Linked DNA regions of Homo sapiens: all the other regions are linked to region 7. Evidence: promoter capture Hi-C in human tissues and cell types (Jung and others, 2019). All regions are on one chromosome and are shown on one strand. The core of a region is centred on a gene start or on the middle of the fragment in contact, and the rest is flanking DNA. Distances in the headings are between cores, read along the strand shown. Region 1 overlaps PAFAH1B1 (platelet activating factor acetylhydrolase 1b regulatory subunit 1). Region 2 overlaps RTN4RL1 (reticulon 4 receptor like 1). Region 3 overlaps PAFAH1B1 (platelet activating factor acetylhydrolase 1b regulatory subunit 1). Region 4 holds the start of CLUH (CLUH binding protein of NUMT mRNA). Region 5 overlaps CCDC92B (coiled-coil domain containing 92B). Region 6 overlaps PAFAH1B1 (platelet activating factor acetylhydrolase 1b regulatory subunit 1). Region 7 holds the start of TSR1 (TSR1 ribosome maturation factor).

Region 1 (3,013 bases), core at 208-2,707, 300 kb before region 7:
AAAAATATAGAACATACTCATGCCTGTAATCCCAGCACTTTGGGAGGCCAAAGCAGGAGGATCACGAAGTCAGGAGTTAGAGACCAGCCTGGCAAAGATGGTGAAACCCTTTTCTCTACTAAAAATACAAAAATTAGCTGGGCGCAGTGGCAGGCGCCTGTAATCCCAGCTACTTGGGAGGCTGAGGCAAGAGAATTGGTTGAACCCTGGAAGCGGAGGTTGCAGTGAGCCGAGATTGCACCACTGCACTCCAGCCTGGGCGACAGAGCAAGACTCCATCTCAAAAAAAAAAAGAAGTAGAACATAAAGCTACATTTTCCCGTTTTGTTTTTATGTTTTTAAAGCTAGTCAGGTGAAGCGGGGGAGTGGAAAATCCCCCTATGTTCTTCACCTATAAAAATGGAATGCTATAAAATACTCTAAAACAGAAGAGGTCAAACCATTTCACACCTCTCTCATTAAAGCATCTGCATTAATTATTTTATTAGCTACCTCATAAAGTTCAAATTCTTCAAATTCTGTAATGGCCATTGGAAGATAAAAGAAACACAACAAGGCAAAGGAAAGACATCAGTGATAACAAGAACAAAACAGCTTTCATTTTTCTAATGCACAGATTCCACACCAAAAAAAGGTTTAGAGGAGCTATGAAGCACCTAACTTCCTATTGAACATAATATTTTAAAAGATAAGCTTAGGGGCCAGGCGCGGTGGCTCACGCCTGTAATCCCAGCACTTTGGGAGGCCGAGGCAGGCGGATCACGAGGTCAGGAGATTGAGACCATCCTGGCTAACACGGTGAAACCCCATCTCTACTAAAAATACAAAACTTAGCCAGGCGTGTTGACGGTCACCTGTAGTCTCAGCTACTCGGGAGGTTGAGGCAGAAGAATGGCGTGAACCCAGGAGGCAGAGCTTGCAGTGAGCCGAGATTGCGCCACTGCACTCCAGCCTGGGTGACAGAACGAGAGTCCATCTCAAAAATAAAAATAAAAATAAGCTTAGGGTAAAACTCATCCCAACTGACTTGTCTGTTTTGCGTTAAACTTACATACAGTCAAGTCACAAGGGTGAATAATGCTGTATCACGGCCGGGCAAAGTGGCTCATGCCTGTAATCCCAGCACTTTGGGAGGCCGAGGTGAGTGGATCACTTGAGGTCAGGAGTTCGAGACCAGCCTGGACAAGATGGTGAAAGCCCATCTCTACTAAAAATACAAAAATTAGCTAGGCATGGTAGCGGGTGCCTGTAATCCCAGCTACTTGGGAGGCTGAGGCAGAAGAATAGCTTGAACCTGGGAGGCGGAGGTTGAAGTGAGCCGAGATGGCGCCATTGCACTCCAGCCTGGGTGACAAAAGCGAAAAACTCCTTCTCAGAAAGAATAAATAAATTTTAAAAATAATGCTATATCATAATAAGACTGTTTTAAAATCAGACCAAACTGCCTAAACTAATATTGGAACACTGGTAAAAATAGTTTTAATCTTAGAAGAGACCTCCCAAAGCTGTATTTTAATTTACTACTTTCTCTCTCATGAGGGAGATTTTTTTTAAAGCACAAAACAAAGAAACTTACAGTTCATCTCGTTGTCTCTGGGACAGCACCATCTTGGCTGTAATGTCAAGCTTATCTGATATAGTGGTATGTCCCTCCTTTGGGAAATCAAAAAGCTTTTTGATCCGTGGACTTATAATTTAAATATGCCACTAAGTGTCTTCCACACAGGGGAAAATGATTCTTTCACAAATGAATCCAACTAGTAACCAGAAGATATTCAACAAGTAAGATTCATTCCACCTAAGGAGAAAGAGAAGAAAAAAAAAGATTATTTCACTTAAAATTTATTTCTAAATTATTAGTTACAGTACTCATTTTCAAAGATAAATTTTATTGTGATGTTAGTATAAATATTAGATGATGATTTTCCACTTATAGTGAAAGTCAACTAATGTCAAAAACCATACTGTTTTGTCTTTTAAATTAATAATTCAATGAGCCAAAACAGCATTACTTTTAAATTTAACATACATTTACCCACTCCCAATCATGTTAACCTGCCAGATACATTTGATTTCAAATATTAACATGTAACTCTAAACGAATGTAATTCTCTCTTAGAGACAAAAAGTAAAATTTCAAATTTACAAAAAAGGTATAAAAGGTAAAACAGATAAGGGTTTCATGAACTGCACAAGCCGAACAGTGCCAACTATAACTGAAGTAACCTTCAAGGTTGAGTGTTAGTCACCAATAACCTTAGAATGGCCGGTATTTATAACATACACTACTTAGCAATCTTACGCTTTTTATTGTTTTTTTGGAGACAGGTTCTCACACAGGTTGGAGTGCAGTGGCATGATCACAGCTTATTGCAGCCTTCCCCCTCTGGGCTTAAGCGATCCTCCCACCTCAGCTTCCCAAGCAGCTGGGACGACAGGCACACACCACCATGCCCAGCTAATTCTTAAATTTTTTTTTTGTAGAGACAGGTCTCCCTACATTGCTGGTCTCAAACTCCTGTATTCATGGGATCCTCCTGCCTCAGTCTCCCAAAGTGCTGGAATCTTATGCTCTCTTAACCAATGTACCTAATTAAGAAATGTATTTGAGATGGTCTTACTTAAAATAGAGGCTACTGGTATATATAAAATTTGATTGGAAGAGGCAATTCAAAGCAATAAAAAAATCATCCTCCAAATGATATGAAATTAACATATAATGAAGATCCTGTGGGACAACCAATCTAGAAACCTATCATGGACAGAAGAGTTAAGGACCATTTCCTGAGTACCTTTCAAATGCCATTCCAGTCACTGCTCCAGGCACTGAGAATACAGTAATGAATAAGCCAGTGAAGAAAGAAGAATGAGAGGCGGGGTGTGGTGGCTCACATATGTAATTAATCCTAGTACTTTGGGAGGTTAAGGCAAGAGGATCACTTGAGCCCAGGAGTTCAAGACCAGCCTGGGAAACACAGGAGACCCCGTCTCTACAGAAAATTTTAAAAATTAG
Region 2 (3,389 bases), core at 350-2,849, 350 kb after region 7:
ATGAAAACGAGTCATGAGTACGGAGTTAGGTTCAGGACCCGGCGCCGTGGCTCACACCTGTAATCCCAGCACTTTGGGAGGCTGAGGTGGGAGGATTGCTTGAGCCCAGGAGTTCGAGACCATCCTGGACACACTGGGTAAGACCCCGTCTCTACAAAAAAAATAGAAAATGTTAGCCAGGCATGGTGGTGCCTGCCTATGGTCTTAGCTGCTTGGGTAACTGAGGTGGGAGGATCGCTTGAGCTCAGGAGTTTGAGACCATCCTGGACACACCTGGTAAGACCCCGTCTCTACAGAAAAAATAGAAGCTGTTAGCCAGGCGTGGTGCTGTGTGACTATGGTCTCAGCTGCTCGGGTGGCTGAGGTGGGAGGATCGCTTGAGCCTAGGAGGCGAAGGCTGCAGTGAACCTCGTTCCCGAATTAGGTGCAGCGTCTTGGGAAGGGCTTGCGGATGTTTTGTTAGTATCACTGTCAATTGGCCCCCGCTGGTGTCATTACTGGACAAGTATCCTCAGAAGAATGTGAGGTCTCGGCCAGGTGTGGCGGCTCACGCCTGTCATCCCAGCCCTTTGGGAGGCTGAGGCAGGTGGATCACTTGAGGCCAGGGGTTCAAGATCAGACTGTACAACATGGTGAAACCCTGTCTCTACTAAAAACACAAAAATTAGCCGGGTGTGGTGGCGGGTGCCTGTAATCCCAGCTGTAATCCCAGCTACTGTAATCGCTTGAACCTGGGAGGTGGAGGTTGCAGTGAGCCGAGATGGCGCCATTGCACTCCAGCCTGGGTGACAGGGCGAGACTCTGTCTCAGGAAAAAAAAAAAAAAGAAGAAGAAGAAGAATGTGAGGTCTCAGCATAGCTCCACCACCAAATGGCCCCCCAGAGGCACTTGCCCAGTTTGCGGGTTGCTGCCCTGCGGGGTGCCTGAGAGAGAACTGGGGAAAACCCAGCCCTTCAAGGAGCTCACAGCAAAGGGAGCCCAGCCTGTGGCACACAGTGACTGTCAGCCGCTGCCCCTCCCTGAGGTTCGCTTTACCTCCTGCTCAGCCACCCCATTCCTCCTTCCTCTGGGTCAGCAAGTTGTCGAACTTTCCTCACTCCATTTTCAGGGTTACCCAGCAACCTGGAGCTGTCGGGGAGCCTGGCGGTCCACCTCCATGCAGGAGGGGAGGGCTTCCTGCACGGCGTCGAGGGCCCGGTGTTTGTGGAACTGCCCCTTCCCAGAGTTTCTTTTCTTTTCTTTTCTTTTCTTTTCTTTTCTTTTGAGACGGAGTCTCGCTCTGACCCCCAGGCTGGAGTGCAGTGGCGCGATCTCGGCTCACTGCAACCTCCGCTCCCTGGTTCATGCCATTCTCCTGCCTTGGCCCCCCGAGTAGCTGGGACTACAGGCGCCCGCCACCATGCCTGGCTAATTTTTTTTTGTATTTATAGTAGAGATGAGGTTTCACCGTGTTAGCCAGGATGGTCTCGAACTCCTGACCTCGTGGTCCGCCCGCCTCGGTCTCCCAAAGTGCTGGGATTACAGGCGCGAGGCACCTCGCCCGGCTTCCTCTTCTCTTCTCTTCTCTTTTCTTTTTGAGACAAAGTCCTATTCTGTTCACCAGGCTGGAGTGGAGTGGCGTGATCTCAGCTCACTGCAACCTCCGCCTCCTGGGTTTAAGCGATTCTCCTGCCTCATCCTCCTGAATAGCTGGGATTACAGGCACTCTCCACCACGCCCAGCTAATTTTTGTAGTTTTTAGCAGAGATGGGTTTTCACCATGCTGGCCATGCTGGTCTGGAACTCCTGACCTCAGGTGATCCACCCGCCTCGGCCTCCCAAAGTGCTGGGATTACAGGCGTGAGCCACCGTGCCGGCCAGTTTCAATACATAAATACTCACTCTTGTGTTACAGTTGCCTGCCGTGTTCAGCACAGGCACGTGCTGTGCAGGTTTGTAGCCTAGGAGCAGTGGGCTATCCCATATAGCCTAGGTGTGCGGTAGGCTCTAGCATCTAGATTTCTGTAAGTATACTCTATGATGTTTGCACAGTGAAATGGTCTGATGATACATTTCTCAGAACACACCCTGTCATTAAGTGATGCATGACTGTGCTTGTTGGGTACAAGCTGTGTCCCAGACACTGCACTGTGGGTTCTAGAGCTTCCTGGGAGAACAGCAGTCCAGGCTGAGGCACACAGCTCCCAGGGCAGTGTGTACCAGCACGTCAGCCACAGCTCAGGCTGGAGCAGGCTCAGCTGGAAGGAGGCAGTGACTCGTGTGAGGCTGCTCAGGGTGGACCAGGTCAGCCTATCTGCACACGAGGCAGCCACAGGGCATGAGGGAGGGAAGACCTCAGCACAGCCAATCTGCACACGAGGCAGCCGCAGGGCAAAAGGGAGGGAAGGCCCAGCAGTCCCCTTTCCCTAAAGTCTCTGGAAAGCAGAGTTATGCAAAGAAAAAAATACCAAGATGGAGTCAGCTTCATTTCTAGGTTTTTGTTGTTGTTGTTTTTGGAGACAAGGTATCACTCTGTCACCCAGGTTGGAGTTGCAGTAGCACGATCACGGCTCACTGCAGCCTTGACCCCCAGAGCTCAAGTGATCCTCCCTCCTCAGCCTCCCAGGTAGCTGAGACTACAGGTGTGCACTACTATACCCAGATAATTTTAAATTTTTTTGTAGGGACGGAGTCTCCTTATGTTGTCCAGGCTGGTCTTGAACTGGGCTCAAGTGATCCTCCCTCCTCAGCCTCCCAAAGTGCTGCCAATGTCCTAGGCACGAGGCTCCCAGGAAACTGCTGGCCTCTTGCACTGTGACTCCCTGTGGGTCACAAGGGGCTCCTGTGGAGCACTTTACCCCATCAGTGCCTCCTGCCTGATGAGTGTGGCTCCAGGAAGCAGCCAGGGACAGGGGCCAGTTTTGGCCCCCTGGGAAACTCTGCTCCACTTCTTTTTTTTTTTTTTTTTTTTGAGATAGAATCTCACTCTGTGGCCCAGACTGAAGTGCAGTGGTGTGATCTCCGCACACCGCACTGCCACCTCCTGGGTTCAAGTGATTCTCCTGCCTCAGCCTCCTGAGTAGCTGGGATTACAGGCTACACCACCACACTCGGCTGTTTTTGTGTATTTTTAGTAGAGACGGGGTTTCTCCATGTTGGCCAGGCTGGTCTTGAACTCCTGACCTCAGGTGATCCGCCCGCCTCAGCCTCCCAAATGCTCCACTTTGATAAGGATTTAAATAGGTTGCTGAGCGGGCCCATGAATTAATCTCTTGTGTTTGTTTATTTATTTTTACTATAAAAGTAATATATGTCATCTGTGGAAAGTATGAAAAGTACAGAACGCTATAAAGAAGTGGGAGGGAGGCAAATACCCAGGGCAGAGCCAAGCACCACTGTTAGCATGTGAA
Region 3 (3,188 bases), core at 284-2,783, 280 kb before region 7:
TCCCCAGGTCCCCGGCCTGTCAGCCTACCCTACAGATTTTGAACTTGCAAGCCTTCACAATAGCATGAGCCAATTCCTCAAACATCAATCAACCAGTCAATCTCTACACACACACACCCTATTGGCCTTGCTTCTCTGGAGAAACCTAATATACTGCCATACTCCAGCAGTAGTATTCTTCTATAATATAGAACCGTTATTAATATAAGCTTAGTCTGTCACTAAACTCTACCAGAATGAATATTCTTCACTCTTCATACTGCTTGAACTCTACTCCCTGGGTACCCTCCAAGCAAATTAATGCTTTCAAGGATTATCAAATGTAATAAACTGCTCTCCATTCTACAACAAACAAGAAAGATGTGCTGAATAAGGGCTATTTGAAGAATAAAGTAGGTAACTGAGAACTCATCCTATTCTTGTTTCGTCGTTGCTTTCTTTCCACTAAGTTTTTGTATTCACTGCCTCTGCCGCTTGTAAGCACCCTCATTAATGCTCATCTTTCCTCTCTTTACTTTTCTCTCCTTGTGTCTTCTTTCTCAGTCTGTCTACCTTATCACCTCCTGGATTTCCTTATCACCTCCTGGGTGCATCCTTATTGCCACACCAGACTGATCAAACATGTTAGGTACAATCTTCATCCCAGATGTGTTCATTTGTTGATGGGTGCTCAAAGACTACTTCTTCACTGCCCCTCTAAAAAGAGAAAGTTTCAGGCTGGGCGCGGTGGCTCACGCCTGTAATCCCAGCATTTTGGGAGGCCAAGGCAGGGGGATCATGAGGTCAGGAGTTCAAGACCAGCCTGGCCAAGATGGTGAAACCCTGTCTCTACTAAAAATAGAAAAATTAGCCAGGCGCGGTGGCAGGCCCCTGCAGTCTCAGCTACTCGGGAGGCTAAGGCAGGAGAATCGCTTGAACCCGGGCGGCAGAGGTTGCAGTGAGCCAAGATTGTGCCACTGCACTCCAGGCTGGGCGACACAGTGAGACTCCATCTCAAAAAAAAGAAAGAAAGAAAGTTTCCTACTTTTGTCTTCGAAATGAAGCCATTTTGAACACCTAAAGGTTCTAAAGAAACTGAATTATGACTTTAGATTTTGTCATAAATCGCTTTTTCCTTGTACTTTCTATCTGATATCAGTTGTTGTATATTATACACATGTACAGTCATTCCAGGACCCCCCGGATACCAATAAAACAATGCTCGAATCCCTTATATAAAATGGCTTAGTATTTGCATATAACCTACACATATACTCTCATATACTTTAAATCATCTCTAGATTACTTAGAATACCTAAAAAAATAAAAGCTATGTAAATAGTTGTTATATTGTATTGTTCAGGGAATAATGACAGGAAAACTGCATGTTCAGTACTGACACAACTATCATTTTGTCTGAATAGTTTCAATCTGGAGTTGGTTGAATCCACAGTACAAAACCCATGGATATGGACGGCCAACTGCATATGCCACAAATAGTGGGAAGGAATGTGAGGACAAACATTGACTGTTTTCGTATGATTTTCAAGATTGTGGGTCACTTTTTTCCTTTAAATTTACTTTAATGTTGGCCTGCAATGGTGGTGCACTATAATCTTTGCCCCTTTGGAGGCTGAGGTGGGAGGATTGCTTGAGGCCAGAAGTTTAACACCGGCCTGGGCAACGCAGCAAGACTCATCTCTAAAAAAAAAGAAAAGAAAAAATTATAAAATCTAGCCATGCATGGTGGCATGTGCCTGTAGTCCTAGCTACTCAGGAGGCTAAGGTGGGAGGATCACTTGAGCCCAGGAGTTCAAGGCTTTGGTGAGCCATGATGACACCACTGCACTCCCGCCTAGGCAACAGAGCTTTTATAAAAGTCGTCTTTAAAAATCCTTCAAGAAGAAAACACAGTTGCCTTGTTCATTATATAACTATCTAGTCTTCCTGGGATGTTGTAATACAGACACATTCTTTGCATCTATATTAAGTTTGCTGCTTTCTATCTTATGTTCTCTCCCCTTTGTATCTAGACCAGGGGTCAGCAAACTCTGCAAAGATAGTAAGTATTTTAGGTTTTGTGGGCCATTCAGATTCTGTAGCAACTCTTCTGCCACTGCAGTAAGAAAGCAACAATAAACAATATACTGGCTAGGTAAGTGCCACGGCTCACTAATCCAGCACTTTGGGAGGCTGAGGCATGAGGATCCCTTGAGCTCAGGAGTTTGAGATCAGCCTGGGCAAAACAGCAAGACCTCATTCTACCACAAATTTAAAAATTAGCCAGGAATGGTGGCACACACCTGCGGTCCCAGCTACTCAGGAGGCTAAGGTGGGAGGATAGCTTGAGCCTGGGAGGTTGAGGCTGCAGCAGTGAACTGTGATCACATCACTGCACTCCACCCTGGGCGACAGAGCCAGACCCACGTCTCAAAAAAAAAAAAAAAAAAAAACCCAATATATAAACAATATATAATATATAAAGAGGCCGCTCATTGCGCTACTGTTGACAAGGAGCTGCCACAGCCGCCCCCTCTTGCTGTCGCCCCAGAATGCCCCTCACATCACCCTGGGCCCCCATTTCAGGCCCCCCTTTCTGGGAGTGCCCTCACCTCTGTGCCAGATCCCAGGCTACGGATTCCTGCCCCTGCCCGAGTGGAGATGCTCGCCCGGCATCAGGAGCTCCTGCAGAAGCAGAACCTGGCCCAGCGCCACAGGGGGACTCTCTGTGGATGGGGAGGAGGCCCCAGCCCTTGAGGACGTCAGCAAGTGGACCATGGATGATGTCTGCAGCTTCGCGGAGGGGCGGCTGTCTGGCTGTGGAGAGTATACTCAGGTCTTCAGGGAGCAGGGGATCGAAGGGGAGACCCTGCCACTGCTGACGGGGGAGCACCCGCTGACCACCACGGGGTTGAAGCTGGGGCCTGCCCTCAAGACCCAGGCCCAGGTGGCCAGGCGCCTGGGCCACATCTTCTACATGGCCAGCTTCCCCATGGCTCTGCCGCTGCAGCCACCAACACTGCGGGCCCCAGAGAGGGAACTCAGCACAGGAGAGCAGCAGCCCTTGTCCCCCATGACAGCCACCTCCCCCTATGAAGGGGGCCACGGCCCTGCCGGCTGAGCTTCGCCCAAGCAAGAAAATGGGACCTTGGCTCTGCTTCCAGGGCCCCCAGACCCTTCCCAGCCTCTGTGCTGAAGTGGCCAGGGGT
Region 4 (3,103 bases), core at 443-2,942, 380 kb before region 7:
TTTGAGACGGAGTTTCTCTCTTGTTGCCCAAGCTGGAGTGCAATGGCGCGATCTCGGCTCACCGCAACCTCCACCTCCTGGGTTCAAGCGATTCTTCTGCCTCAGCCACCCGAGTAGCTGGGACTACAGGCGCACACCACCATGCGCAGCTAATTTTTGTATTTTTAGTAGAGACGGGGTTTCACCATCTTGGCCAGGCTGGTCTCTAATTCCTGACCTCGTGATCCGCCCGCCTCTGCCTCCCAAAGTGCTGGAATTACAGGCGTGAGCCACCGCGCCCGGCTTTTTTTTTTTTTTTTTTTTTGAGACGGTGTCTGTGTCACCCAGGCAGGAGTGCAGTGGTGCGATCATAGCTCACTGCAGCTTGGAACTCCTGGGCTCAATCTGAGCCGTCCTGAGTGATACTCCCAGCTCAGCTCCCAAGTAGCTGGGACTACAGGCGCGTGCCACTACACCTGGCTTTTTTTAAACAATATTTTTTGTAGAGACGGGGGTTTTGAAATGTTGCCCAGGTTGGTCTCAAACTTCCGAATCCTGAACTCAAGTCATCCGCCTGGCTTCGGCCTCCCAAAGTGCTAGGATTACAGGCGTGAGCCGCTGCACCGCCCGGCCGAGAAGAATCTTACCAGTTCTCATCTTCCTTCCTCCCGTTTAAATGCTCACATCAAGTCGCTGGCTTTCCTCACCACGTGCTCTCCAGAACAAGGTCGGCTTTCCTTCGCAATTTGTGCGAGGCCCTACCTAAGGCCCTCCCAGCCCACCTCGGGAAGCTGAAGCTTTCCAGTTCTCATTAGAGCTTGACAAACGCTCCGAAGGTTATAGGCCTCGGGTGCTTCCCAAAGGCCCCCTGCGGCCTGGCCAGGAAAGACCCACCGGCGCTCTCTGCCTGGAGCACTTCAACTCACTGCAAGACCTGGTCCCAATGTCCCCTCTGCAGCATTCTCTGACCTCACCGTTCCGTCCCCGCCAAGCCCCTGCCAAGTGAAAAATACGAGTTAAAGCGTCCTGGCTGTGGATGGAGTCAGACCCGGCTCTACCCCTTGCTCTCTGTGTGACCTTGGTCTCGGCCTCCTCCACTGTAAAATGAGGACACCAGCCTGGAGGTGAGGACCCATGGGTCGAGGACGCGGGTAGGGAGCCCGTTCTGGCTCGGGGCAAAGTTTGGCGGGTCCATTCTGACTCTTGATCCCCATTAGCCACGTCTCGCCCTCGCCTCTCGTGCCCGTGCCCTAAGCGACCCTCCACTCCCTCAATAATCCAGCCGCACCCATTCGGCGGGAAAGGGCCTGCCGGGTGGGGAGGGCGCTGAGGGTCACGCGAACACCGCAGATGACAGACTGCGCGGTCATTTAGCAAATCTGCAAGAGAAAACAGGGGATCCTTGGAGAGGGGAGGATTAGCCATGGCAGAACCAGACCAGTCTCCACCCAAGGTCACAGTGCCCGCCCGACGGGCAGCGAGCAGCAGGGAGTCTCCCCGAGGCCCCGCCCCGCGAGGGCGCCCAGCCTCCCTGGGCCTTGAGTCAGAGTGCGTTGCCTTTAAGACGTTCTGGAAAGTCACCGCGTCCGTGGGCGGGGAACCAGGCGCGGCGCGTTTTGTCCCTCGCGGGCCGCCGTGGGCTGGGCCGGGCGCGAGGGTGGGGCAGGGAAACGGCGGCGGGGTCAAAGGCCACGGCGCGCACCACGTGGGCCGGTGACTCCGTCCTTCCCTCAGCAGCCGCGGCGCGCAGGGCACTTGGGTTAGTGGCGCGGCGGGCGGCGCGGACAGCCGAGGCGGACGCCCGCTCCCGCCACCATGGTTATCAAGACGGACGAGTTGCCGGCGGCCGCCCCGGCCGACAGCGCCCGGGAACACGGCTCGCAGGCCGGGGGCAAGGGGCGGCCGGGCGCGGCCGGTGAGCGGGGCCAGGGCCAGCGGGCCGCTGGGCGGGGGGCGCCGGACCAGGGCGGGCGGGTTCGGGACTCCGCGGGGATCGCCGCCTTCCCTCCGCGTCGGGCCCGGTTGTATCTCGCTGGGGCCTTCACCGGGTCGCCCCCGCGCTGAAGGTCACCTTCACAGTCGCCCCCGGCTGCGGCCCGGGTTTCGCACGTGCGGTCCCGTGGAGGGCAGCCTCGGCTGGCACCCTCGGCGGGCACACGCGCGCCTCATCGCGGGGACACGTGCGCGCACACGCGGTTTCGGGGTGCGCCGCCGCCGCAGACCGAAAGAATCGGCGGCCCCACCCCCTCTGCGCCCGAGCATGGGAGCTCTCTGAGCTGGGGTCGCTCCGACGTTTGCGGGACAGCCCCCTTCGGCACCTGCTCCGCGGCGGCCTCCCAGGCATCCCCTGTGCGCAGGGCTGCAGCCCTGGGAGTGAAGCTCCGCTCGAGGCTTCCCAGGCTTGGTTTGTGGGAAGAGCACGAGGTGCGGGGTGTGCGTTGTGAGGGGCGTCCCTGGTTCATGCCCTGAGGCCAGGCTATAACCGCAGGTCTTCAGGCTGTGGCGGAGACTCTCAGGTGTGTTGGCCTGCTCGGCCGACCTGGTGTAGGGGGCGTCTGCCTTTGCATGGGGCAGAGCCAAACTCCTTGGCAGGGGGAAGTGTTTGTGCCAGAACTTGATCATTAACCTGCCTTATTGCGAAAAGTGGGTCAGACCAGAGTTGCTGTTTTTAAGGCAAAGGTCGTTAGTGTGGAGTCAAGCTCCCAGCGATCCCCCATGGGGGCTGTATGGTGGTGACTGTGGCAGTGGCTGCAGCTTGTCTCGGGTGGGGCCTGCTTTCCCTTTCTCCTGAGCCCCTTCTCTTCCTTCTGTTCCCTCCACCGTGTCTCAGACTCCAGCCTTGGGGCTGGAATCCCCTTCCCAGGCCCTCAGTCGTCATCTTCCTCAGGCCCTCTTTGCTCTGGGTGGCAGTGGAGGTGCAGAGCTACTCCTGTCCCCCAGTCCCTCCCTCCTCCGTCGACTGTCCTCAGTTGGGACTTGTGGTCTTAACGCCTCATCATCTCCCTTCCTAGCTTCAGTGAGTGCGCCAGGGCTGACTTGGGAATCAGGATGGGGACAGCGTTCAGCCCTCTGACCCTGTTCCCATCATAGCGGAGTTGCCTTGGGGTGAGGGACAGGTGCTGGG
Region 5 (3,194 bases), core at 110-2,609, 390 kb before region 7:
TATAACGCACGTTACCTGACTTGGAGGGACACAGTAATTTTTTTTTTTTTTTTTTTTGAGACGGAGTCTCGCTCTTGTCGCCCAGGCTGGAGTGCAGTGGCACGATCTCGGCTCACTGCAACCTCCACCTCCCGTGTTCAAGTGATTCTCCTGCTGCAGCCTCCCAAGTAGCTGAGACAACAGGCGCACACCACCATCCACCGGCTAATTTTTTGTATTTCTTAGTAGAGACAGGGTTTCACCATGTTGGCCAGGCTGGTCTCAAACTCTTGACCTCAGGTGATCCACCCGCCTCAGCCTTGCAAAGTGCTGGAAGTACAGGTGTGAGCCACCGAGTCTGGCCAGGACATAGTAACTATTTAATTAAAAATGAATCACAAGGCCAGGTGTGGTGGCTCACGCCTGTAATCCCAAGACTTTAGGAAACCAAGGCAGGAGAATCACTTGAGCCCAGGAGTTCAAGACCAGCCTGGACAAAATAGTAAGACTCTGTCCCTACCATTTTTTTTTAATATTAAAAAAATGTTAAAAGGAATCATAAAAAGTCTTTCTTGGCCAGAAGAGTTCTTAAGAACAGACTCTCTTCCATACTGATGTATTGCTTATAGATCAAATGCTACAGGCTGGAAGTTTAAGCTATGATGTTAGGAACCCTAGAAACTGCTTTGTGTATTCATGCATGAAGATCAGTTACAGACCATCTAAACACTTACGAACTTGGACTAATCCTGCCCTCTTTAGAGGACAACCACAGGCAACCTCTTGGTGCCTAGGTGGCTGGAGGAAGGCAGCACATGCCCCAGACACTAGATTAGGACAGTTCTGTGACACAGCCACTTTCACCCCACTTACTGTCCTTTATCTGAAAGGGCTTTTGAGATCACCTGGGCCCAAGCCACTGCCCCAATCCAATGTCTTCATCTTTTTGTTTTTTTTGTTTTTTTTTTTTGAGACGGAGTCTCGCTCTGTCGCCCAGGCTGGAGTGCAGTGGTGCGGTCTCGGCTCACTGCAAGCTCTGCCTCCCGGGTTCACGCCATTCTGCCTCAGTCTCCCGTGTAGCTGGGACTACAGGCGCCCGCCACCACGCCCGGCTCATTTTTTGTATTTTTAGTAGAGACGGGTTTCACCGTGTTAGCCAGGATGGTCTAGATCTCCTGACCTCGTGATCCACCCACCTCGGCCTCCCAAAGTGCTGGGATTACAGGCATGAGCCACCGCGTCTGGCCTTTTTTTTTTTTTTGAGACATACTCTGTCACCCAGGCTGGAGTGCCATGGCACCATCTCTGCTCACTGCAACCTCTGCCTCCTAGGTGGGTTCAAGAGATCCTTCCACCTCAACCTCGAGATTAGCTGGTACTACAGATACATGCCACCATGCCCAGCTTTTTTGTAGAGAGGGGTTTCGCCATGTCACCCAGGCTGGTTTTGAACTCCTGAGCTTAAGCAATTTGCCCCCCTCAGCCTCCCAAAGTGCTGGGATTACAGGCACGACCACTGTGCCTGGCTCTTTCAATGGGCTTTGAGAACTCTTTCTTTTTTTAGAGACAGGATCTTGCTCTGTTGTCCAGGCTGTAGTGTGCAGTAGCAGAATCATAGCTCACTGCAGCTTTGTACTCCTGGGCTCAAGAGATCCTCCCACCTCAGCCCTCCCCTGAGTCACTGGGATGAGTGTGTCAACCCACTGGGCTTAAGAACTTTCTTTGTCCTCTTTCGTTTTTTTTTTTTTTGAGACGGAGTCTCACTCTGGCGCCCAGGCTGGAGTGCAGTGGCGCGATCTCAGCTCACTGCAACCTCCGCCTCCCAGGGTCAAGCAATTCTCCTACTTCAGCCTCCCAAGTAGCTGGGATCACAGGCGCACACCACCATACCCAGCTAATTTTTGTATTTTTAGTAGAGACGGGGTTTCGCCATGCTGGCCAGGCTGGTCTCGAACTCCTGACCTTGTGATCCGCCCACCTTGGCCTCCCAAAGTGCTGGGATTACAGGCGTGAGCCACTGCACCCAGCCCTCTTTGTCCTCTTATCACTTGGTGATTTTCATCCTTCCAGGGTCACTCTTTGCCACTTTCGGCTGCCTACGTCCCTACACTCACCTGTGCCAAGTCCTAGGATATGGTCCTGCCGAGATGGAGCTTCCAGGAGGCAGGGGTCCTCAACTCACGCTGCACGTGAGAACCACCGGGGAAGATTTAAGCAACACCAGTTCCCAGGTCCAGCTCCAGGGATGCTGGTGCAATTGGTCTTTCATAGCGCCCAGGAAACAGCACTGGTTAAAGCTCTCTGGGTGGTTCTAATGTCTATCCAGGGTTGAAACCTGCTGCAGTGGCAAAGGCCAACAATAAACAAGTAAACAAAAAATGACAAACATGTGGCCAGGCACGGTGACTCCCACCTATAATCCCAGCACTTTATGAGGCTGAGGCAGGAGGATTGCCTGAACCCACAAGTTCGAGACCAGCCCAGGCAACATGGCAAAACCTCATCTCTACAAAAAATGTGCATGCCTGTGGTCCCAACTCCTGGGAAGGCTGAGGTGGGAGAATTACTCAAGCCCAGGTGATAGAGGCTGCAGTGAGCTATGCCGCTGCACTCCAGCCTGGCAAGAGGGAGACTTTGTCTCAAAAAAAAAAAAAAAAAAGGGCTGGGCGTGGTGGCTCACGCCTGTAATCCCAGCACTCTGGGAGTCCGAGGCGGGTGGATCACAAGGTCAGGAGTTTGAGACCAGCCAGGCCAATATGGTGAAACCTCATCTGTAAAAATACAAAAATAAATTAGCTGGGTGTGGTAGCGGGTGCCTGTAATCCCAGCTACTCCGGAGGCTGAGGCAGGAGAATCGCTTGAACCCAGGAGGCAGAGGGTGCAGTGAACCGAGATCATGCCACTGCACTCCAGCCTGGGTGACAGAGTGAGACTCTGCCTCAACAACAACAAAAGAGGCCAGGTGCAGTGGCTCACGCCTGTAATCCCAGCACTTTGGGAGGCTGAGGCGGGAGGATGACCTGAGGTCAGGAGTTCAAGACCATTCTGGCCAACATGGTGAAACCCCGTCTCTACTAAAAATACAAAAATTAGCCGGGCGCGGTGGCTCATGCCTGTAATCCCAGCACTTTGGGAGGCTGAGGCAGGCGGATCACGAGGTCAGGAGATCGAAACCATCCTGGCTAACATGGTGAAACCCTGTCTCTACTAAAAAT
Region 6 (3,451 bases), core at 164-2,663, 340 kb before region 7:
AATTTTTAATGAGCCACAAAATTCTAAGAAAGTCCAAATGCCAGTAGTTTTCGTGTTTCTCTAATATACCATAACCCAAGAAGGTATCTAGTTTGCCAATTCAGTTAGGGAAGTTGAGACTCAATGATCAAATCCTGTATTAACATCTCAATAAAAACGCCTGTTCCTCTTTGGCCCATCCCAAATGGGGCTCAAATCCTTTTTCTTCTTTTTTCAAAGGCAGGGTCTCACTATGTTGCCCAGGCTGGAGTGCAGTGGCTGTTCAAAGGTGCGATCCCACTACTGATCAGCAAGGGAGTTTTGACCTGCTCTGTTTCTGACCTGGGCCAGGTCACCCCTCCTTAGGCAACCTGGGAGTCTCCTGTTCCCAGGAGGTCACCATATTGATGCTGCACTTAGTGCAAACATCCCATCAGCACAGCACACTGTAACCCAGAACTCCTGGGCTCAAGCAATCCTCCAGCCTCAGCCTCCTGAGTAGCTGGGACTAAGGCACAGCAGGGCTCAAATCTAACAATACACAGTCTCGCCATATCCATTTACTGAACACGATGTTCCAGGCATGGCATAAATGCTCCGTATTTGTGCCTAATCCTTGAACCAATCCTGTGAGGCAGGTATTAGCCCACCTTACGCAGGCTTTGGTCCATTATACTTTAGTGCATTTATTATACTTGACTGTATTCACTCTCTTAAATTCCAGATTCAAGTCCAGATGATAGTGAGGATGTTTACTCAAATCAAATACAATTTTCTGAGTTTCTAGTATCTGATAGTATACACCTGCCAGTGGGAAAGGTTGAGGAAGATTTTGTTTGAGAAACAAACTAATAGGGGAGAAAAATTACCCATCAGAGTGGTAAGTAACCTCTTCACAAATTGTGGTTTCCAAAACCAATGTTGTGCAGTGGAGAAAGTAATGTTTTTATTATAAGGCTAACGATGGAAAGAGTTAACGGGAAAGGAGAATTTAAAACAAATGGTAGGAATCCACAAGATTTTCATGTCTTCTCTATTCTGCCCTGAAAGCACAGTCATTTCTTACCTGGCAAAGTCCACACGATTATGTAAAACACAGTTTGTCTGGCACTCCAAAATCTAATGTTCAGAGACCTCGCGAGGCGTACATACCCAAGGAGGTAACAAAGTGTTCATGCGCATTGAGGGTCTTCATGCATCGCTTGTTCTTGTAATCCCATACGCGTAGGGTCTTGTCATCAGCACAACTCAAAATAAACTTCCCCCCAGAATGGAACAGAACTCCACGTACCCAGTTATCATGACCCACCTTAAAAACAAAAAAGTTATTTGACTCAGTAAAAGGCAAAATGTTTAAATAGCATCTATTTCATAATACGATAAAACTATACATACCAAAAACATCAAAAGACCAGAAGAAAATAAAAGTCTAGGGGATTCTAGATTAAAGGAAACTGAAAACTCATAAGACATGAGGAGTGAATATAACGTACGATCCCTGACTGGGTCCTGGATGAGGGTTAAAAAGAAGTCCCGCAGGGCATTATGGAAATAACAAGAACAAATCTCAATATGTAGTCTATCAATGGTAAATTTCTTGAGTGTGAATAATTTTATTTTGGTTATTTATATACTATCCTTGTTCTTAGGTGGTTCATGCTAAAATACTTGGGGGTAAAGTGTTACGATGTCTGCAAAGAACGCTCAAATGATTTCAGCAAAATATACACACATACATGAAGGAAAACCAACAAATGGTAACTAAGTGAAGGATATACAGGCATTCACTATATATCTATATATCCATCCATCCATCCATCCATCCATCCATCCATCCATCCAATCATCCAATCATCCATCCATCCACCCACCCACCCATCTATCTATCCATCCAATCATCCATCTAATCATCCATCTAATCATCCATCCATCCATCCATCCATCCAATCATCCATCCATCCATCCATCCAATCATCCATCCATCCATCCATCCAATCATCCATCCATCCATCCAATCATCCATCTATCCATCCAACCATCCAATCATCCATCTATCCATCCATCCAATCATCCATCCATCCATCCATCCAATCATTCATCCATCTAATCATCCATCCATTTAATCATCCATCCATCTATCCATCCATATTTCCCCTGTCGCAGCAGTTCTGTTCTTGCAATTTATCTTTAAGGACATGCCCAGAGATTTAGTTAGCAAAGATGTTCACAAAGCATTGTCTGTAGATCAGTGTAGAAGAGCATCTAACAACATAAGCAAGGATCACATACTTTCTAAATTAAAGGTTTGCTACAAAGCTACCTTAAGGGGCATGATACCATTTTTATAAAAAATAGCACATTCATCTACACATTAAAGAAAAAGGCTTAGAACTGCACAGTTGAACATGGTAGCTACTGTCCATGTACGCCTACTTTAATATATAATATTAAGATTACATACAACCAACAATTCAGTTCTTCAGTCTCACTAGCCACATTTCAAGAGTATAATAGCTGCATGTGGCTAGTAGCTACCACGCTGGATAGTGCAGTTATAGCACAGCACTGCAAAATTTTGTTTTGTTTTAAAAAGAGACAGCAACTCTGTTGCCCAGGCTGGAGTATAGTGGCATGATCACGGCTCACTAAAGCCTCAAATTCCTGGGTTCAAGTAATCCTCCTGCCTTAGCCTCCCAAGTAGCTAGGACTATAGGCATGCATCATCATGCATGACTAATTTTTAAACTTTTATTTTGGTAGAGACAGGGTCTTGTTATGTTGCTCAGGCTGGTCTCAAACTCCTGGGCTCCTCCTGCCTTGGCCTCCCAAAGTCCTGGGATTACAGGTGTGAGCCACTGTGCCTGGCCAAGAGTATGTTTTTCTTGTTTCTTTTCTTTTTTTTTCCTGGAGACAGAGTCTTACTTCACTGCCCAGGATGGAGGGCAATGGTGCGATCTCGGCTCACTGCAACCTCCGTCTCCCAGGTGCAAACGATTCTCAAGCCTCAGCCTCCCGAGTAGCTGGGATTACAGACGTGCGCCACCATGCCCGGGTTTTTTTTTTTTTTTTTTTGAGATGGTTTCACTCTTGTTGCCCAGGCTGGAGTACAATGGCGTGATCTTGGCTCACTGCAACCTCCGCCTCCCAGGTTAAAGTGATTTGCCTGCCTCAGCCTTCCCAAGTAGCTGGGATTACAGGCATGTGCCACCATGCCTGGCTAATTTTGTGTTTTTAGCAGCGATGGGGTTCCTCCATGTTGGTCAGGCTGGTCTCGAACTCCCAACCTCAGGTGATCCACCCATCTCGGCCTCCCAAAGTGCTGGGATTACAGGCGTGAGCCACCGCGCCTGGCCACGCCCGGCTAATTTTTGTAATTTTAGTAGAGACGGGGTTTCACCATGTTGGCCAGGCTGGTCCTGAACTCCTGACCTCAGGTGATCCACCTGCCTCAGCCTCCAAAAGTGCTGGGATT
Region 7 (3,380 bases), core at 405-2,904:
GCGGGGCCCCGCCCCCTCCCCTGGCGGCGCGGGCACTGAATGGGCAGCTCCGGATCCAGCCATCCCCGCCATCGCCGCCACCCCTCCCCCGGCCTTGGGCTCCCAGCGCCGCTGCCGTCACTGGGCGGGGAGCTGCGGGGCTGCGAAGCAAACAAGCCGGGAGCGCCGGCCGGGTCCCCCGGGCAGAGGGGCGCTGCCCTCCCCCATCCGAGAAAGGGGAAGGAGGCGCAGCCCGTCCAGGACCCGCCCCGCCCGGCCCAGGTTCGGCCCGGGTGCCCGCGCCGGGGGGTGGGCGCGGACCTTTCTGCCCCCTGGGCCGCGCGGGCCAGGGCGCGAGCCCCCCGGGGTTCTTGACTCGACTTTACCTCCTTCTTCACGTTCCACAGCAGTTTCTCTTTGACTGCGTCCTCTGCGCTGCCCATGGTGTGGCAGGAGGCGGCGCCGAGCGGTCCTCAGAGCCCCCGCGCCCTCGCCGCCTCCGCGCCTCTCGGCTCAGCGCCCCACGCGCAAGGCGGAGCCCCCGCCCGCCGCGCTCCCGGCCCGCCGCCGCCGCCGCCGCCGCAGCCACTGCCCGGTGCTCGGCTCCGCAGCCATCTTCCGAGCCCCGCACAGACGTCAGGCGGCAGGCCCGGCCCCTTCCCACAGCCGGAGGGGGGTTGCGCACAGCGACGGGGGATCGGGGCGGGGAGAGGCCGTGCGCGCCTAGGGGCGGCAGACCCGGGCGCGCGCCACGGGGGTCGCTGTCATGGCAACGCACCCGCTCCCGCATGGAGGGCGCGAAGCCGCATTGTGAGCGCTGGCCCTGGAGCCCGCGGCCCCGCGGCTGAGAGCGAGCCTCGGTCCCGCTGAAGCTCCCCTGACTTCTGCCTGCTCCCTCTCCCGACGGGACGGAAAGGGCCGGGGCTCGGGCATGGGGTCCCCTGCGGTCCGAGCCTGCCCACGGCGAAGCCGGTGCAGCCTGGCCCCGTGACCCCTCTGAATCCCCGTCCGGCCGTCGCCGTGCAGTTGTCAAGTTTCTGGGAAGATTAGTGGGAGCGCAGCCGCCCGAGCCCGACGGCCGGAGGGTCGCGGCCAGTCCCCCTTGCCGGGTCGCCACGTCCCACAAGGTCCTTCCCGGCCGCTCCGTGGGAGGCGGGGCGCAGGTTGGAGTAACAGGGACGGGCTTGAGCTGGTACGGAACCGGGCAAGGTGAGAGAAGTGTCTTCCACGCGATTCCCAAGCCTCGCTAGGGAATCGAGGGAGAAGAAAGGTTGCTCAGAGTGATAAAGAACATGCCGTTGCAAACGGAAGAGCAACGTGCCCGAATCTAGGTGACAGGAAGGGCTTAGGCCTTTTCGGCACGAATGGAGCCTTCCAGTCAACATGCTTCTACGTGATGCAGCTTTATAGCGCAAAAAAATGACAATGCAAGGGGTACAAACAGCCCTGCTAGACCAACAGCCCGAGCCTCGACAGTCTACATCCGGCGCCTTCAAGCCCCCAACCACACACTGCGAAGTGGGAAAAGTTCCCAGCGCGGCTTGGCGAACCCGCTAACACGGCGCTCTCACGAGCTGCTGGAAAAGACCTTCGCGAGAGGGCGCAGGGAGTCCCGCTCCCTGGAGGGCCCGCCCCCTTGGAGGGGACCGGAAGCGCTTGTCCTGGCCCGGAAGCAGTGCTGACTCCGTACACGCGCGCTGCGGCATGGCGGCCCACCGCCCCGGCCCGCTCAAGCAGCAGAATAAAGCTCATAAAGGCGGACGGCATCGGGGTCGGGGATCTGCACAGCGGGACGGCAAGGGTAAGGAGATAACGTAGAAGGAATAAGGGCTATTTGGCCGTTATTAACTCTTTTTCCTCATGCCCAGACTGAGCTTCTGTCTCCCGTCTGGGCTCCACGCGAAAGGCCCTTTCTAAGGTGGGCGGAGAGGAGTCCCTTTTCTTGACCTTGTGGGGCCGATCACACCAGCCCCTTCTAATCTGCCATTCAGGCCGTCTGGCACTGAAAACCCTAAGCAAGAAGGTGAGAAAAGAACTCAGCAGAGTCGACCAGAGGCATCGCGCCAGCCAGCTCCGAAAGCAGAAGAAGGAGGCGGTGAGAGGAGCGGGATTTGGGAGAATGCGGCTTCTCTGGTGTTCTAGGTGGCTAATGCCTCGAAGTGGAAAATGAGACCGGGAGGAGGGTCCAGGGACAGAGCATAGCCCTAGAGCACGTGTCGAGCGTGCAGGTCTAGCATTCTTTGCTTTGGTCAGAATTCCTGCCACCCCGCTGGCATACCTGTGGTCTTTTACTAGAGAGATGCTGGTTTTGGGTAGGGGGAGCATCTGTGGGAGTGGAAATGCAATGCTGGAGTGAAGTACTGAGACACTGAGATGTTCTCGGATATCTTTCTATTTTCAGGTTCTGGCAGAGAAGAGACAGCTGGGTGGCAAGGATGGCCCTCCTCATCAGGTACTGGTGGTGCCCCTGCACAGCAGAATTTCCCTGCCAGAGGCCATGCAGCTGCTTCAAGATAGGGACACTGGAACAGTACACTTGAATGAATTGGGAAACACCCAGAACTTTATGCTGCTGTGCCCCCGCTTGAAACATCGGTGGTTTTTCACCTCAGCAAGGCCAGGTTAGAGTATACACCAATATTTTGTATTATGTTTGAGTAGTGGTATTTTTTTTTTTTTTTTTTAGAATAATGTGCTGGTGCCAACCACCTCTTCTTACTGTGTCTTCTATCTGCAGGGGATCTGCACGTTGTGTTAGACATGGCTAAAGTAGCTGATACCATCCTGTTCCTCCTTGATCCACTAGAAGGCTGGGACAGCACCGGTGATTACTGTCTTTCCTGCCTCTTTGCTCAGGGCCTTCCGACCTATAGTAAGTGAGTTAGCATTTATTGTGCACCTTTAATTTGTCAGGCACTATGCCTGGTATTTGATACAGGAATACAACTGATGGATCATATTCAGCTGGTGGTGGGATGTACACATATGGATTAAACTTGATCCATTGTTTACAGATTATCACTCAGGGTGTCTTTTTGTTTTTGGCTGTCCTTTGCCCAGAGAAACAAGGATATGAAGTTTGATTTCACTGTGAAATTCCTTCAGGGTAGTTCAGTGTTGGGCTTCCCAGTGATCTCTGGGCTTGCAACTGAGCTATTAGGTTGTTTGTGAACTGCAGAGGGATTTTTATGTAATGAAGCAGTAGGTCATGAAGCGTTTTCTCTTTCGCTTACAGCACTAGCTGTCCAGGGGATTTCTGGCCTCCCACTGAAGAAACAAATAGATACCAGGAAGAAGCTAAGTAAAGCAGTGGAGAAGCGCTTTCCGCATGACAAACTCCTCTTGTTAGACACTCAACAGGAGGCAGGGATGCTGCTTAGGCAGTTGGCTAACCAGAAGCA

The links. The method cuts DNA at HindIII sites, captures the fragments that hold promoters and counts their contacts. A contact is called where the count stands out against the background at its distance.
Region 1: a contact is called between a fragment that was not itself captured here and the fragment with the promoter of TSR1 in region 7, in 7 of the 25 tissues and cell types used here (H1 embryonic stem cells, IMR-90 fibroblasts, dorsolateral prefrontal cortex and 4 more).
Region 2: a fragment that was not itself captured here is called in contact with the fragment with the promoter of TSR1 in region 7 in 2 of the 25 tissues and cell types used here (IMR-90 fibroblasts and bladder).
Region 3: a contact is called between a fragment that was not itself captured here and the fragment with the promoter of TSR1 in region 7, in 4 of the 25 tissues and cell types used here (bladder, heart right ventricle, hippocampus and 1 more).
Region 4: the fragment with the promoter of CLUH here is called in contact with the fragment with the promoter of TSR1 in region 7 in 1 of the 25 tissues and cell types used here (dorsolateral prefrontal cortex).
Region 5: a contact is called between a fragment that was not itself captured here and the fragment with the promoter of TSR1 in region 7, in 1 of the 25 tissues and cell types used here (H1 embryonic stem cells).
Region 6: a contact is called between a fragment that was not itself captured here and the fragment with the promoter of TSR1 in region 7, in 1 of the 25 tissues and cell types used here (hippocampus).

The regions. Positions count from the first base shown.
Region 1 is chr17:2,636,884-2,639,896 of GRCh38, reverse strand. PAFAH1B1 (platelet activating factor acetylhydrolase 1b regulatory subunit 1) reads right to left here. Exons shown (of 11, transcript NM_000430.4): 2 at 1,577-1,798. The coding sequence starts at 1,608. Among named protein-coding and RNA genes, the nearest start is that of PAFAH1B1, 45 kb to the right of the region's middle. The HindIII fragment of the contact is 4,031 bases long and covers 1-3,013 here.
Region 2 is chr17:1,980,488-1,983,876 of GRCh38, reverse strand. The region is part of intron 1 of RTN4RL1 (reticulon 4 receptor like 1); the gene reads left to right. Among named protein-coding and RNA genes, the nearest start is that of RTN4RL1-AS1, 36 kb to the left of the region's middle. RefSeq lists enhancers at 1-800, 801-1,642. The HindIII fragment of the contact is 8,412 bases long and covers 1-3,389 here.
Region 3 is chr17:2,613,266-2,616,453 of GRCh38, reverse strand. The region is part of intron 1 of PAFAH1B1 (platelet activating factor acetylhydrolase 1b regulatory subunit 1); the gene reads right to left. It also overlaps the pseudogene SAMD11P1. Among named protein-coding and RNA genes, the nearest start is that of PAFAH1B1, 21 kb to the right of the region's middle. The HindIII fragment of the contact is 6,951 bases long and covers 1-3,188 here.
Region 4 is chr17:2,710,353-2,713,455 of GRCh38, reverse strand. It overlaps CLUH (CLUH binding protein of NUMT mRNA), which reads left to right and starts at 1,692. Exons shown (of 26, transcript NM_001366661.1): 1 at 1,692-1,894. The coding sequence starts at 1,795. It overlaps LOC105371592 (a long non-coding RNA gene), which reads right to left and starts at 1,147. Exons shown (of 2, transcript NR_136412.1): 1 at 1,057-1,147; 2 at 623-974. RefSeq lists enhancers at 427-1,322, 1,323-2,219, 3,054-3,103 and silencers at 1,384-1,563, 1,694-1,813. The HindIII fragment of the contact is 23,363 bases long and covers 1-3,103 here.
Region 5 is chr17:2,726,358-2,729,551 of GRCh38, reverse strand. The region is part of intron 3 of CCDC92B (coiled-coil domain containing 92B); the gene reads left to right. Among named protein-coding and RNA genes, the nearest start is that of CLUH, 16 kb to the right of the region's middle. The HindIII fragment of the contact is 6,490 bases long and covers 1-3,194 here.
Region 6 is chr17:2,678,001-2,681,451 of GRCh38, reverse strand. It overlaps PAFAH1B1 (platelet activating factor acetylhydrolase 1b regulatory subunit 1), which reads right to left. Exons shown (of 11, transcript NM_000430.4): 10 at 1,132-1,288. It also overlaps the pseudogene RN7SL608P. Among named protein-coding and RNA genes, the nearest start is that of MIR6776, 13 kb to the left of the region's middle. The HindIII fragment of the contact is 7,278 bases long and covers 1-3,451 here.
Region 7 is chr17:2,334,731-2,338,110 of GRCh38, reverse strand. It overlaps TSR1 (TSR1 ribosome maturation factor), which reads left to right and starts at 1,654. Exons shown (of 15, transcript NM_018128.5): 1 at 1,654-1,780; 2 at 1,971-2,074; 3 at 2,381-2,600; 4 at 2,717-2,851; 5 at 3,215-3,380. The coding sequence starts at 1,684. SGSM2 (small G protein signaling modulator 2) reads right to left here and starts at 610. Exons shown (of 24, transcript NM_014853.3): 1 at 366-610. The coding sequence starts at 422. RefSeq lists silencers at 1-236, 267-366, 467-576, 677-986, 1,017-1,146 and an enhancer at 1,377-1,486. The HindIII fragment of the contact is 7,910 bases long and covers 1-3,380 here.